3 separate regions of the Homo sapiens genome follow, and all the other regions are linked to region 3. Evidence: promoter capture Hi-C in human tissues and cell types (Jung and others, 2019). All regions are on one chromosome and are shown on one strand. The core of a region is centred on a gene start or on the middle of the fragment in contact, and the rest is flanking DNA. Distances in the headings are between cores, read along the strand shown.

Evidence for each region. The method cuts DNA at HindIII sites, captures the fragments that hold promoters and counts their contacts. A contact is called where the count stands out against the background at its distance.
Region 1: a fragment that was not itself captured here is called in contact with the fragment with the promoter of GRIA4 in region 3 in 3 of the 25 tissues and cell types used here (adrenal gland, dorsolateral prefrontal cortex and hippocampus).
Region 2: a contact is called between a fragment that was not itself captured here and the fragment with the promoter of GRIA4 in region 3, in 3 of the 25 tissues and cell types used here (heart left ventricle, lymphoblastoid cells and mesenchymal stem cells).

What each region holds. Positions count from the first base shown.
Region 1 is chr11:105,713,448-105,718,368 of GRCh38, forward strand. The region is part of intron 3 of GRIA4 (glutamate ionotropic receptor AMPA type subunit 4); the gene reads left to right. Among named protein-coding and RNA genes, the nearest start is that of GRIA4, 110 kb to the left of the region's middle. The HindIII fragment of the contact is 7,108 bases long and covers 1-4,921 here.
Region 2 is chr11:105,540,578-105,545,032 of GRCh38, forward strand. It overlaps a transcript of LOC105369468 not described here. Among named protein-coding and RNA genes, the nearest start is that of GRIA4, 67 kb to the right of the region's middle. The HindIII fragment of the contact is 5,063 bases long and covers 1-4,455 here.
Region 3 is chr11:105,606,877-105,611,562 of GRCh38, forward strand. GRIA4 (glutamate ionotropic receptor AMPA type subunit 4) reads left to right here and starts at 3,197. Exons shown (of 17, transcript NM_000829.4): 1 at 3,197-3,552; 2 at 4,032-4,209. The coding sequence starts at 4,122. RefSeq lists a silencer at 4,173-4,373. The HindIII fragment of the contact is 8,669 bases long and covers 1-4,686 here.

The DNA.
Region 1 (4,921 bases), core at 2,040-4,539, 110 kb after region 3:
AATTTATAAAATGAAATTACTTGTCAAAATGATGGAATTATGGGATCTTTTCCAGATTTTTCTTTAATGCTTTTACAGATAAAAGCAATGCTTAATTTAGAGAAACACTATCATGCATTATACATTCCAATTTTACCTGAAAGTTTTTGCCCTTTCCTGTGTGATTTGTGGGGATAAAAGCTTTCAATCAATTTTCAACTACAAGCTTTTCTACCTTGTACAAGAAAGTTTTTAATTTGGGATTGTTGTTAAATTACTTCAGGAACATAGTTCAGAAATTATTAATTAATATATGCTAATTAACAGCACAAATATTTTAAAGATGCACAAATAGGTCCAGAATGGAAATTTTAAAGTAGCTTGAGGCCATTGAAGTAACAAAAGGACAATTCAAAAATAATTAACAACAGACCCAGAGGACCAGTAGTGGGTACAGCTGCAAGGAAACACTTCTGTGTGTGCTGGCAGACTGTAGACCTTCAGCGGCTCTTCAGTGAGTACAGCTGTGCTCAGCTAATTTTGTTTGTTACCACAATAATCTAGAAACTACTAAACTTAGAGACGCTTTGAGGCAGGATCTATAGGATTTAGGTTTTACAAAATATATTGGGGGCTTGTAGGTGAGAATTGTGGGATTTATGCCTCAACTTCCACATTTATATTTATGGAAATATTATTTAGAGACTGCTTTGAGATATAAAATTAATGGTTTTGCTTCTCAAAACTTGATGATGTCAAGACTGTTTAGTAATTTTTAAACTAAAATATTATAAAAATTAACCAGAAATATTTTAAATTTTGAAAAACAAAAAAAAAAATCAATATATATAATTGAAACTCAAAGTTACTAGTGCAATTTTCATGTGAAAAAATTCTGCTAGAGAGTATGTATCATCAAATCACACTGTTTTAAATTTCTTAATATTTTAACAATCTGATATCACTTTGAGATAATTTGGTTGAATGCTTCCCTACAATAAATAAGTGAATAAGTCTCCATCATAAAATGATATATCCATTCTGTCTGAAAGTAACTATGACCTCAACGAACAGTTGATTTTGTTGCCTAAATATTATCATGCTTAAGACTTGAGTATACTTTATTATAAAACATCAATTATCTTACAAAATGTAATGGATTCATTTCTAGTAAAATCATCTTAGGAGATATATTTTCAAATAATTATATTATTCAGATTCACCAAGACCCTATATTGCTGAAACGAGACAGGCCAATAAAGATATTTATTAAATTATGATGACAACATCTGTTTTAGAAATGTAAATTAATTATACTGAACAGAATAATTATTTGATCTTTAGCCGTTTTAGGTCTTCAGTTGGGACAGACCCAGAAGAGTGTGTGTGTGTGTTCGTGTGTGTGTGTGTTCTGGCTGTTTCTGCAGGTGTCTCTGAGAGACTTCGATTAGTAAAGGGTCTAGGTTAGGTTCACTAATGTCCACAAAAGGATGACAGTCAAACCATCAGCTTTTCTGGTCTCCAGTGTAAGAGCTTCACCTTCAACCAGTAACTGTGAATCTACAGTCAAGGCCAGACTTGATGGCAATAACAATCACAATTGATTGCAACAAAATCATCATTTTAAAAATCTGAAAAAAACAGCGATTATATCTTATGGAGAATTTCTAAAAGTGGACTTTCAAATCAGTGTAAATCAGCGTAGTCAATAAACAGCAATCACTTATTTGCTACATGTTACCTTAGCATTCTGAGGAGTTGCCAATCATGACAATGGTCATAATCAAAAGATGCTGTAACCATACTATTACATCTTTTCATTACACTTGCTGAAGGCACGTTGTTGAGGACATTTTCTATTATATGACTACCTTCCCTATATTAAGTCTTATGTTTGAAACATCTTTTAGAATTTAGTACTAGAGATATATCTTTAACCTCCAACCAGGACCTGTTATGCTTAATCCCCACTGAAAATAAAATTATGTAACTGTCTATGTTTCCCTTTTTGTTTTGATGACCAAGAAGCCTACAGATAGATGTTGCTCTCTCATTAATAGTCAAATGATTAGTACAAGAAGTCAGACCAGGAAGAGGTCATTAATATCAATACAAAAGATTAAGAAAGGCTACAGAAAATACCAAATTTGAGCCAGTTTTTAGATAATAGAATATATTTGTGTATTAGACGAGCAAAAAGGATTTTAAAGAATGTAATTCTGTACTAGTTAGAATAGGCTAAGCTGCAGTAACAAAATGACCCAAAGAATTAAGGATGATTAAAGGAGAAGTCATAACTCTACAGTGGGTTTTCAATTCAATGGGGTTGGGGTTTCTCTCCACTTTGTCTTAAGGGACCCAGGGTCCCTTCATCTCGTGGCGCTACCATCCTTTAAAGCATCCATGTCATCTGCCTTCGGCTAACAGGAAAACAAGTACAAAGTACACACTGTAGGTGAAATGTGTCAGGCCTGAAAATGGCCCACGTTATTTCTACTCAATGCCCAACGGGAAAGACTTAATCACTCAGCTGCAACTAATTGCAAGTGAGGCCCAGGAAGAAGAGGAAAGTAGACATACAGGGCTCTGTTACAAACATTAAAAATAACAAACTAAAATGCAATTAGCCTTGGCATAGTAAAAAGCATAATTTTATATTAGACATGACTGTAATTTCCCTAAAAGTTTAAAAGTTTCTTATCCACTGCAACCAACCCTTTTTTCACATATGCAAGAACTTATCTATAAACACATACAGAGGTTTTGGAATGAATTGAAGGATCCCAGATTGACAAGAAACCATTATATCTTGTGGAACACATTTTAGCTACTATTAAATGTAAATTTTGCAATAACACAGAAGAAAGAAATAAAACAGCTCCTATTTACATAGTAAAGTAATATACTTACTTCTAGCTTATTTGATAATGTATATAATTCAAATTACTTTTAGTTGTTTTATTTATAACTGTATTCTCAAGTTCCTTAATTTGAACAATTTTAAATGATAATACAGTGGTTAAAATGGAATGAAAAATTTAGTTTCCTAAAATAAAATGTATCACAATCACTGAAAACCTAAATTATCTAAGTTGTAACACAGTGTGCTGTCCTATTTCTGATAACTCTGGTTAGAAAGCAATTGGTGGACAGTTTTGCAGAGACTCCTAAGCTACACATCATCACTGTACAGAAAACTCTATACATCATTAACAACGTATCAATGCAAGCAATATAATTCCCTAGAGAAGAATAGTTTGCACTTAACATCAATTTAACCATTTTCTCTAGACACATCCTATTATGAAGTTTCATAACTCAGCAGAAACATCGGTATGTAGCAGGGGGCAAACATTATGTAAAAGTGGGGAATGATCAAAAACTTCACTCTCAGATGGACTCTAATCTTTAACTAGAGAATATACTATATTATAATTTAAATTACCTCGATGCCTTACTTTTAGAAGAGCAAATTGTTCTCACGTTTTACAACTTGATAGGCAGTTGCTCTAATCCATAAAAAAAGAAAAAAGGAGAAACTGAGTCTTTGCCTTTTCTTACTCTCTGCAATCCTTATTATTCAGTGTTACATGGAGGTTTATCTTAGCAAAGTCCTCCGTGATAACTTATTCATTAATCTTCAGAATATCCCAAACAAGTGAATATTTTCCCCTTATGTTGAAAATGAGGTTAACATTATCTTCATCTCCATAGAATGAGTCACTAGAAAAGGTGGATTGGAGCTAAGAATTCCTGAAATCCCAGTCCAAGCATGTCCAGTTTCATAAACCACCTTTTAAAATTCATTCTTTCATTTCAGAGCATGGCAAGCTCCATACCAGCTAATTTTTCTCTGTGACTATAAATATACCATATTTGCCCTAAAAGCATAAAAAGAAAAAAAAAATCTTAATGGGAATTCTGCTCCTACCTAAGCCACTCTAGCAGTTATTTTCTTAGCAAACTCTTAATTATACGCCCTTAGACAACAAGAAATAAAGCTAAATCTCACTATCTCTCCAAAAGCAAGATTCTGTCTCAGTGAGACTCTTTAATTAATCCCATGATATATGTTTCTGAATTTCTAAAAAGACATTCTTACAAGTTTTTTTTTTCTTGGAAGGGAGGAATAGTCATTCCAGGGGAGAGAAGTACAAATTCCAATGGTAATAAATTTTCCCAACTTTCAAGTCGTCTTGCAATGACTTACAACAAAGAAAAGACATAACATAGAGTTAAACGAAGATTTTTAAGTACAGCCTTTGTTCTCTCTTTTTTCTTTTTTTTTATTTATTATTATTATACTTTAAGTTTTAGGGTACATGTGCACAATGTGCAGGTTAGTTACATATGTATACATGTGTCATGCTGGTGCGCTGCACCCACTAACTCGTCATCTAGCATTAGGTATATCTCCCAATGCTATCCCTCCCCCCTCCCCCCACCCCACAACAGTCCCCATGGAATACTATGCAGCCATAAAAAATGATGAGTTCATGCCCTTTGTAGGGACATGGATGAAATTGGAAATCATCATTCTCAGTAAACTATGCAAGAACAAAAAACCAAACACCGCATATTCTCACTCATAGGTGGGAACTGAACAATGAGGCTTTGTTCTCTTGAAAAAAGAAATGGATCATTGGTTGGCTAACAGTGCTCTAAAATTAAAACCAAAATTATTTACTATGGCTCACCTCAAACATAAGCCCAGAATATGGAAAAAGTAAACACTGAGTCTTAAAATATTTAAGGCTAGAACAACCTATGAAGCCAATGTATAGAATTAGGTGTGGTCACACAAGTATATAGACTACATGTGTAGCACTGACTGAGGATCAGCCAATTAAGCTCTTCCAAGCTTTCATTAGTGTAATTATTTTAAGGGGGCATGTTTAGATCCTTGGTTTAATTCACAGATGACTGATGCCTGTAATGGAGA
Region 2 (4,455 bases), core at 957-3,456, 67 kb before region 3:
GATTTAAAAAATAAAAACTAACAATATTAACAAAATACAAACCTTCAATATAAACACATGGAAAGATTAAAAAGAAAATTATAGAGGAAAATGATACTATACAGAAATACTAATCAAACACTGACTTGCATAGGAATATTAATATTACATATTTCAATTTTTAAATAAAATCGATATTGGAAAGAAAGTTATTAGATTATAAAAACATTTAACTTACTGTAAAGCTATAACAATTCTAAATATCTCCAAATAATAAAATGGGTTCATATGATATAAAGCAAACATTAATACAAATTAAATTGGAAAATTGACACATCTACCATTGGAATGAGAGACTTCAATAAATCTCTCTCCTAAATATTGATAAGTACAATACAGAAAATTAGGAAAGTTATAGAAAATTTGGGGCAATATAATTAAGCTTAATATAAATGGACATACATACAACTTTGCGTCAGTTAGAGAATGCCTGTTCTCTCAAACACACTGGAGCAGTTTCAAGATTAATCATGGATTAGGTCTCAAATTCTGGGATGCAAGGACGACTCTAGAGTCCACCCTGTGAAACAAGGACCAGCCCAGTCCTCATGCATTAGGAGGTTCAGCCTGGCTTACTTGCGTAAAAATTTCCAAGTTTCTCCCTTTTGCTCTACGTGTGTTCTTACAAGTTACATTTTTCAGAAAATAAAAATTTTCAGACTGGTCTGGCTGTGTCTGTTTCTTGGAACTAAAAGAGCTTCGTTAAAATTGAACTTGGTATCGCCCAGAACAGAAGAGTTACGGCACTGAGATTCTGAGAATGAGTGTTGATTATGATGAAGAAGGCTGTGTGACTCCCAGAAGGTCAGGCATTGGGCTACTTGGTAATCACTGCCGTAGAGAAATGTTTAAGAAAAGTGGTAGGGAGGAGAGTGAGCGGTAGATAATTCCTTGATTTAGGAAGCCTGCCTTCCTAGCCACTCTCCCCTTTAGGCGCTTTGTTTCAGCCACATTGGTGGTGTTTCAATTCCTTGAGCATGGTTTTTACCAGCTTTCAAACTTTGAAATAAAGTTTCACATTTGAAATTGTTCTTGGAATGTTCTTACTCCTTCCTCCCGCCAACTTCCTCCCTGAGGCCCCAGCTCAGATGTTACTTTCTGTGAAAAAACTCCTCGAGAGTTCTACCTAAATGTTTCCCTACTTATTCATTCTTTATTTCGTTCACAGTATCTATCACTGATGCATTTATATGATCTTTGTTAACCTATATTTTATACATAGTTTATATTTGTTTATTCCACTAGAGAATAAATGTTTTGAAATTAGAAACTATGTGATTTGTTCACCAGTACATATTCAGTACTTAAAATAGTGCATGGTACAATTTAAGGGTAAAGAGAATTTTCCCTCCTACTCTGAGGACTGAAGCCTGGTGAAATAAGCTGACAATGGATGGTTTAATAGAAGAAAAGACATACAAATGCATTAATGTGCGTAAGCAGAAGAGCAATACAGAAGATGAGACTCAAAGAAGGCCCAGATGAATGAAACTTAAGTAGAACCCTCTTCATGGGGGAAGGGAGATTGGAGAATGTAAGCCGTTTTTGAGAAGTATTAAATTATTTTTAAAAGAGATGAATGGGCCCAAAGAGCAGACAATAGTTTGTAAATTATTCTCTTTGGACTGAATGGGACCTGCAAGTCATAGGAAAGATGAGGGGTGGAACTGCACTGTGAACAAAGGTCTTATTATGAAGATAAACTCTCCCAGATAATCTCTTGGGGCTGGTCTTAGAATAGATGAAAAGTCTACCTGGATATGGTGAGGACTTTTAGTTTTTTGTCTTCTCTGGAGGTTAATATTTCCTGGTTATTTAATGAGATTCTTAGGGGTGGGTGGGAATTTTATTTCAAAAGTGTTCAGCATTATGGTATTATCTTATGAGCCCCAACAATATAATAGATGTAAAGAAGTAAAGGCTGATTGACAGCTCTCAATCCATTAGTAACTGAAGAAGTTAAAAGGATTAACTAAAAGGATTAATTAAATTGATCCAGGTTCTAGTCTGACTCTCATCCCTGTAAGTTATGACCATGAACAGGCTGTTTAACTTCTCCAAGTCATAGACTCTGTATCTCTAAATTACGGCTGGGGGTGGATGTGGATATCTTCTTCATAGTCGAATCAAATAAAACAGAATCAAATAAAAAGAGAAATTCTCAATACATTTCAAATATCTAGTACACAAGATAAAATATTAATGTTAGTTCAGCCCACTCCACATATCCCCACCTCTACCCCTCCTGCCGTAAGAGATAGGATACAGAGTTATTTCATGATCAATTCCAGTTAGAAAAGTATAGGAATGCCATCTTTGGTTAAATATAAGGAAGATAGGTCTAATGTTTACTGCTATCTACCAGGAGATAAGACTACTTCAAGAGAAGCATGGATTAGATCCCTCCTTGCCTCTGGCCATGTTTAGAAAATGGATGACTACAAAAAGGAAATTCTTTCTTTGTAAAGCAGATGATACTGGACAACCACAAAGGTGATTTCTAATTTGAAGATTGTATTAGTCTAATCTTTACTAATAAGAGCTGTATTTTTATCCTTTTTATCATTTTTTTTGTCCTTCTTCTGGTTTTATTGTTTTGAACTTTGATTCTTTGATGTATTGAGCTTTATAACTAAATGCACTACAATTAAGCCTTAAAGTAAACTAGAAATATGCTTTAATTGGATTTACTACAGGCCAGAGTTTGCTATAATAAGGCAATTGTATCCTGGATTCCAGGCAATAACATTTAGATTCTGAATTGCCAAAAGGAGCTTGGCTTAATGTACTTTATCTTGTAAGGCAGTATTCCAGCATGAGTTGTCATCTCCGTTGACATCAGGATCTTAGAGACATCCATTGCTAATAAGCACATTAATTAGTAATTATGTAATATCATAATTAGCCAGCATATCAATTAAATCCTTAATAATGAATAGTGTACTATATAAGATCATGAACAATTTTATAAATACTCAAATATAATTTCTCAATGTGAATTTCAATATATAATTTTGGGGTGAAATAAGGGTTTGCACTGGTAAGAGTATCATGTCACCACACACAAGAAAAACGTCTGAATTTACAACTATCACTGTGATATTTGATATTTTGTGGTATTTAAAGTTAAATTCTTGACTCTACTGCATGAAAAGATTTATGAAGGATAAACGGTGAGGATCCAAATTTTTCAAAGTTTGCTCCAGAGACAATACTATCACCAGCATCATAATTACACAGGGTCCTTAATGAAAATTTAGGCATTTCAACTCTTCCTAAGAGCTATTGGCTAGAAATGTTTTGGATTGCCTAAGAACCTGTCTTTTTACCAATGCCCTAGATGAATTCTGCAAACATCACAGTTTTGAAACTCATTGTACTAAAATATAGCTGAAGATAATATATGAGAACATAAGCAAATTGACTGTACTTAAAATGCTGACTCAGGTGAGTAGATTTTTAAAGTAATGTAAAGAACTAAAATACTTTTATGGGTGATTCTCATCTTATAATATTATTTTGAAGGTGCGTAATCCTGTGGCAGAAGCAAAACAGTTTCGTCCGGGCAGAAGGCACTGTAGAGGGGAAGAAACTATTACCTGAGGGACTAAATAAAAATTAATTAATATATGGATATTGAAAATACAGATAAGCTGCAAAGTAAAGTTTGCTAATACTGAGAGCCATCAAGTTCAAATTGGAATTTAGGTTTTATGGAATATTTAGCATGTGGTGATTAAAAATGTAGGTGCAGAGGAAAAGCTTCCCATTCACTCTCTTTTTTTGATTGTTTGTTTGTTTGTTTTTGTTTTTTGAGACAGGGTCTCACCCCATTGCCCAGGCTAGAATGGATTGTCACAGTCATGGATCACTGCAGCTTCGACCTCCTGGGTTCAGGTGATTCTCCCACCTCAGCCTCCTGAGTAGCTGGAAGTATAATAACATATCTTCATGCCTGGCTATTTTTTTCAAACTCCTGTGCTCAAGTGACCCACCTGCCTCAGCCTCCCAAAGTGCTGGGATTATAGGTGTGAGCCACCAGGTCCAGCCCCATTAACCCTTTCTGAAGGTTCACTAGAATGACTGACAATAGACAGATGAATAGGAGAAAAAGTCATATAAATGTATTTACATATATATGGACATGGAGTCCTGCAAATATGATACTCAAACCAAGGCCAGATGGTTGAGGCTTAAATCCCCTCTTCCATCTTAGAGTGAAATGGGGGTCTGTCAGTAATTTTAGGGGTAGTAAATAATTTTCAGATAAAATGAATAAGCCCAAAGAAGAATGGCCAGAAACAAAGTTCTTCTGCACCCTGGGGCAGGTGGTGGGAAGGTGAGGGGTAGACTTCACTGTGAAGAAAGTTTGTGTTTTCATGCAAATAAAGACTCCCAGATAATCAGAATTGCCCT
Region 3 (4,686 bases), core at 1,947-4,446:
AAAATACTCTAATGGAAAAACTGATATAACTGTAAATAAAGTCTGGTGTTTAATTAACAGTGACATACCTGTGTCAGTTTCTTATTTTTGACAAAGGTACCAGAGTAATGTAAGATGATAACATTAAGGAAAACTGAAATTGGATGAAGGGTACAGGGGAACTCTCCGTAGTTAATTAGAAACACTTATGTAAATAAAATTATTCCAAATGAAAGGTTTATTATTAAAAATATGGGTTGGTTTCCTAGCATCAGATTTCTGATCTAAAGTACAAATCTGGTCATTTTGCCCCCTTGCTTATAACCGTTCATTGTTTCTCTGTCTCTATGAGACGAAGACAATGCTTCTGAGTGAGATGGTGCCGAGCCATCTCTTGCTTTGCTTTCCAGCCGCACTTCCACTACTTCCCCTCATATAACCTGAAGTCTAGTTTTACCAAGCTTTTAGCAGTGTCTAGAAAGACATAATTTTTCTCCACTTGATAATCCCTACAAACACATAGCAACTCAGTTCAATTTTATTTTTCTCTCTGTGAGTTCTCCCTGAATTCCCTCAAAGTCAGAGTTAGACACTCTATTTTGCTCACATGGCACTCTGCACCTCACTCTATAAGAGCCTTTATCACATTTTGGGGGGCAACTCATTATTGACAAGAGTTGCCAGTTATGTGCCAGAACTGTGTTGAAAGTTTACTTATATCCTGTCAGAAAAGAAATGTTAGGTAATATATCCAAGTCAATACAGCTAAGAAATTGAGGGCCTGTAATCTGAAACCAGTTACTAATTATTAGTCTGAAAGCCTGAGGTCTTTCAGGTAGAACACACTACCTTTCTGAATGCTAGGATTCTTGTAGTTTACTTTTCAGCTCCCAGACCCCTCGTCACTCCTTAAACTCATTAACACAGCAGGTTTTAATAAAGACAGCCCAGTCTCTGAAATCAGACAACTTGAGTCCCATCCTTAGTTATGGTTTCATCACTTACCAAGAATATAATCTTGAGAAAGAATCTAAATCTTTAGTTGGGTTACCTAACAAATGCAAGGATACCTAAAATTTTCTGTAGATCAGGTAATATATGTATGGCTTCAGCACAATACCTTGCACATTAGTGAGCATTCATAAACATTAAGAGTCTTCTAAGAATATCAGGGATTTTGTTTTGTTCAACTTTATATCTCAAACACTTGGAGAATAAATACACATCATAGGTGCTTAATATATAACTATTTGACATATATGTACATCTATATACATGTATATACGTATATAATATATGTATATATGATATTTCTATGTATCATACAGAGAAAATATATTTGATACATACATTTATAAATATATGTGTATATAATACAGATAAAGAGAGTTTAGGTTTAGAAAGTAAAATAGAGGTTTTAACTACTTGGGAAAATAGAAATTAAAAACAACTGGATTACTATTTTGGAAAAATATAGTTGTGTCATCTGTGGTTATATTAGTCCAGGTGTTATCATGACAGTTAAGTGGGGAAAAAAAACTTGTCCTGCATCTATATCAATGATGCTATTACATCATATGAAAACTGAAATCTTTCAATTTTGAGAAGAATTAAAGTTAATAATTGCCTCTGGATCAGGAAGAGCTTCACTAGTTACCCAAGCAAGTGATGAGTTTAACAGTTTGGTGGATTTTGAAATTTTAATTTAACTTGAATTTTATGTGTCATACTCTATTATCCTTTTTCAAGAGAAAACAGAATGCTATTATTCACAGCCTTGTTTTTTAACACAGAAAAATAAAAAAAGGAAAAATGCTTCAAATTTCACTTGACTTGCAAGACTAAAACTTCACAAACTAAAATGACAAATGTATGATTTGTAAAATACAGTTACAATTAGGTTTTTTTTTTCATAACAATCTGTGGTGAAATGTAACGGGAAAGCAGACACTTATTTTAAAGATGCAATTTTAAAAATAAAATTCAAAACTTAGGAAATAGAAAAGCACTCAAGTTTTAGCAGGGATTTTAAAATGTCATCTACAAACTACAAATACAGGTAATCAGTGACACCAAATAAAGTATTTTGAAAGAGTTAAGGTAATGTATATTTCAAAAAGCCGTTACCAGGCTTTCTGTAAGTCCCTTGCAAGAATTCCACTTTAAGCATTGTAGTCTCAAATATTATATCAGGCAAACCTAGGCATTTGCTATATTCTTTTTAAAAATTTAATGGCAGACATCACCCTAGGTTCCCTAACGTTTAAGGAGAACCTCTCCTTCTAATGATTCTCTCACACAGCTTATTGGAACAGGAGATTGTATTTACTAACTAGATCAGGAAATCTCAAACCATACAGAGGAAATCAGAAACCGGTCACTCACGGCTACCACAGTGACTGCTTCTGAGTGTGGTTCAAGCTCAGTCCAGGACAGGCAGATGAAAGGACAATCTTAAAGGTGACTCTGGAGAGCAAGTGAGACTGTAACCCCAAAACTTTCTAGGATAATTCATTTTCACTTCTACCCAGTCAAAACAACTATTGACATCATCACTGAAGTGCTTAAGTCTACCTGGAGGTGGCGTGGAGCAGAGTGAGCATTCCAGAGTCCCAGACAAGAGGAGATGTGCACGAAACACTATCTTCCTGTCAGACACCTGTGCCCACTGCCCCAAGCACTGCCCCTCTGGTCCTTCATCAGCCTTTGCGCTGTGTCCCTCCTGCTCCTGCAATGGGCCACAGCACAGAAGGAAAGAGTCCTCCGGAATGGGTGACTGTATAGAAAGCAATCGAATCTTTAATCACTTTTCCTACTTTACACTTCACGCAGTTCTTATTCCTATCCCTGCTTCATGCCTTTCCAAGAGAATGTTAGAGGCCTCTTTCAATTTTCATTTCTCAGTCTTTTCCCCATCCCGTTCAGTACCCTAAACTTCGTCAGTTATTTAAAATAACCTTTTACCCCCTCCTCCCCTTCCCAGGATGTTTCAACTTCTCTGGCTCTCTTCCCCATCCTTACCTCCTCCAATTCTTTCATCCTGGTCCTGGCCTCTTAAACCCGCCAGGGGCTGCCCTTTGCCTGTCTTTTCTCCTCCCATCCCTCTCTGAACCCTTTCACCTCATCCATTCCCTTGTCAGGCTCTCCAGATTCCCGGGCTGTTTGCTGGTGAGAAATCTTTGCTGCAGCGAGGACCGGAGTCCCCCGCGCGCAGCCCAGTGGCAGAAGAGGGCTAGGCTGAGAGGGAAGCCAGGACTGTAGGAGAGGGAGGCAGCCCGTCCTCCTCACGAACCTGCAAGGATGCGGCAGGGGCCTGGGGGCATGGGGAGGTACTAACCCCCCGGAGCCCCCGATTGGGGCTTGCAGACCTGGCCCGTGGGCGGATTTTCTGCCTAGCGCAGCCGAGAAGCAGAGGTGCCAGGAAAACCAAGAGAGGGGCGCTGGGGGTGCCCATCCCCAGAGTCGGTCCCTCTGCGAACCGAGGAAGAAAAGAGGAGGGAGTCAGCGAGTGGTCAGAAGGGAAAACCTGACACCAGACTGGCTCCGGAGCGTCCGGGAGACTGGGGCGCTCCGGTGAGCACCCAGGGGGTGAAGCCAGCCGAGCGGTGGGCGAGGGGCGTGCGGAGGGAGTGCGCGCTCGAGGAGGGGACGCCAGGAGGGCAGCGATGCTCCGGGCTGGTGCAGGCTTGCTGGGGGATGTCGGCTGATGCGAGCTGGAGAGCGCGTGTGGCGGCCGCGGCGCCAGTGTTTGTGTGTATGTGAGAAAGCAAGGGGCGAGCGCGAGTGCGAGTGAGGCAAAGATAGAGCGCATGTCTCATCCCTGCGAGCAGCCACTAGACGCTCCACCACCATCTTTTGCATGTGCAACATTTGCAGCCGGACAGAAAACCTCTCCCAGGGCTATGGAGACTGCGGGAAAAATCTGGCGGCTCGCGATGGATTGCTAAGGAGAACTAGTCATAATCTTAAACCACCGAAACCTCTTTCCTTTTTTTTCTTTCTTTTCTTTCTTTTCTTTTTTTTTTTTTTTTTTTGGTTGATTTTAATTTTAGCGCCATCGTCTTCAATGCTTCTCTGAACAGCCTTTAGGAAGAGTGCGAGAGAAAGAGAGAGAGCGCGCGCCAGGGAGAGGAGAAAAGAAGATGAGGATTATTTCCAGACAGATTGTCTTGTTATTTTCTGGATTTTGGGGACTCGCCATGGGAGCCTTTCCGAGCAGCGTGCAAATAGGTAAGGTGTGCTCCGATGGGGTGTGCATGTGGCTGGTTGTAGCAGATATCCGAAAGTGAGTTAAATGAGTTGCTGATAAGCAATTCAGGGAAACCTTCAGCAGTTCCCTTCCCCTCTGTTTCCCTCCTCTTCCTTTCTCTCCTTTGCAAAAAGACTTCCTCTTTAGTGCAGGTTCCGTTGGAATACACCCAGGGCAGCCCACCCATGCGTTCTCAGCCCATAGCCCTATTTCCACCTTTACCTATAGTCGCTTAAGTAGGATTGAAATAAGTTGGGGGAAAGTCTTCGGGGAATTTGGTTGTATTTTATATGATATTTATTTCCATCCCTTTCTCTAAAGCATAAAGTGATGTCGAGTTTGTTTAAAAAAGAAAAAAAAAATCCACTTCTTCCCATTCTGGACGCCGCAGCTTTCTTGCTATTACAGAAAGACACTGTTTGAGGAAAAAGACATTTCCACCCGCACGCCCTGCCGTT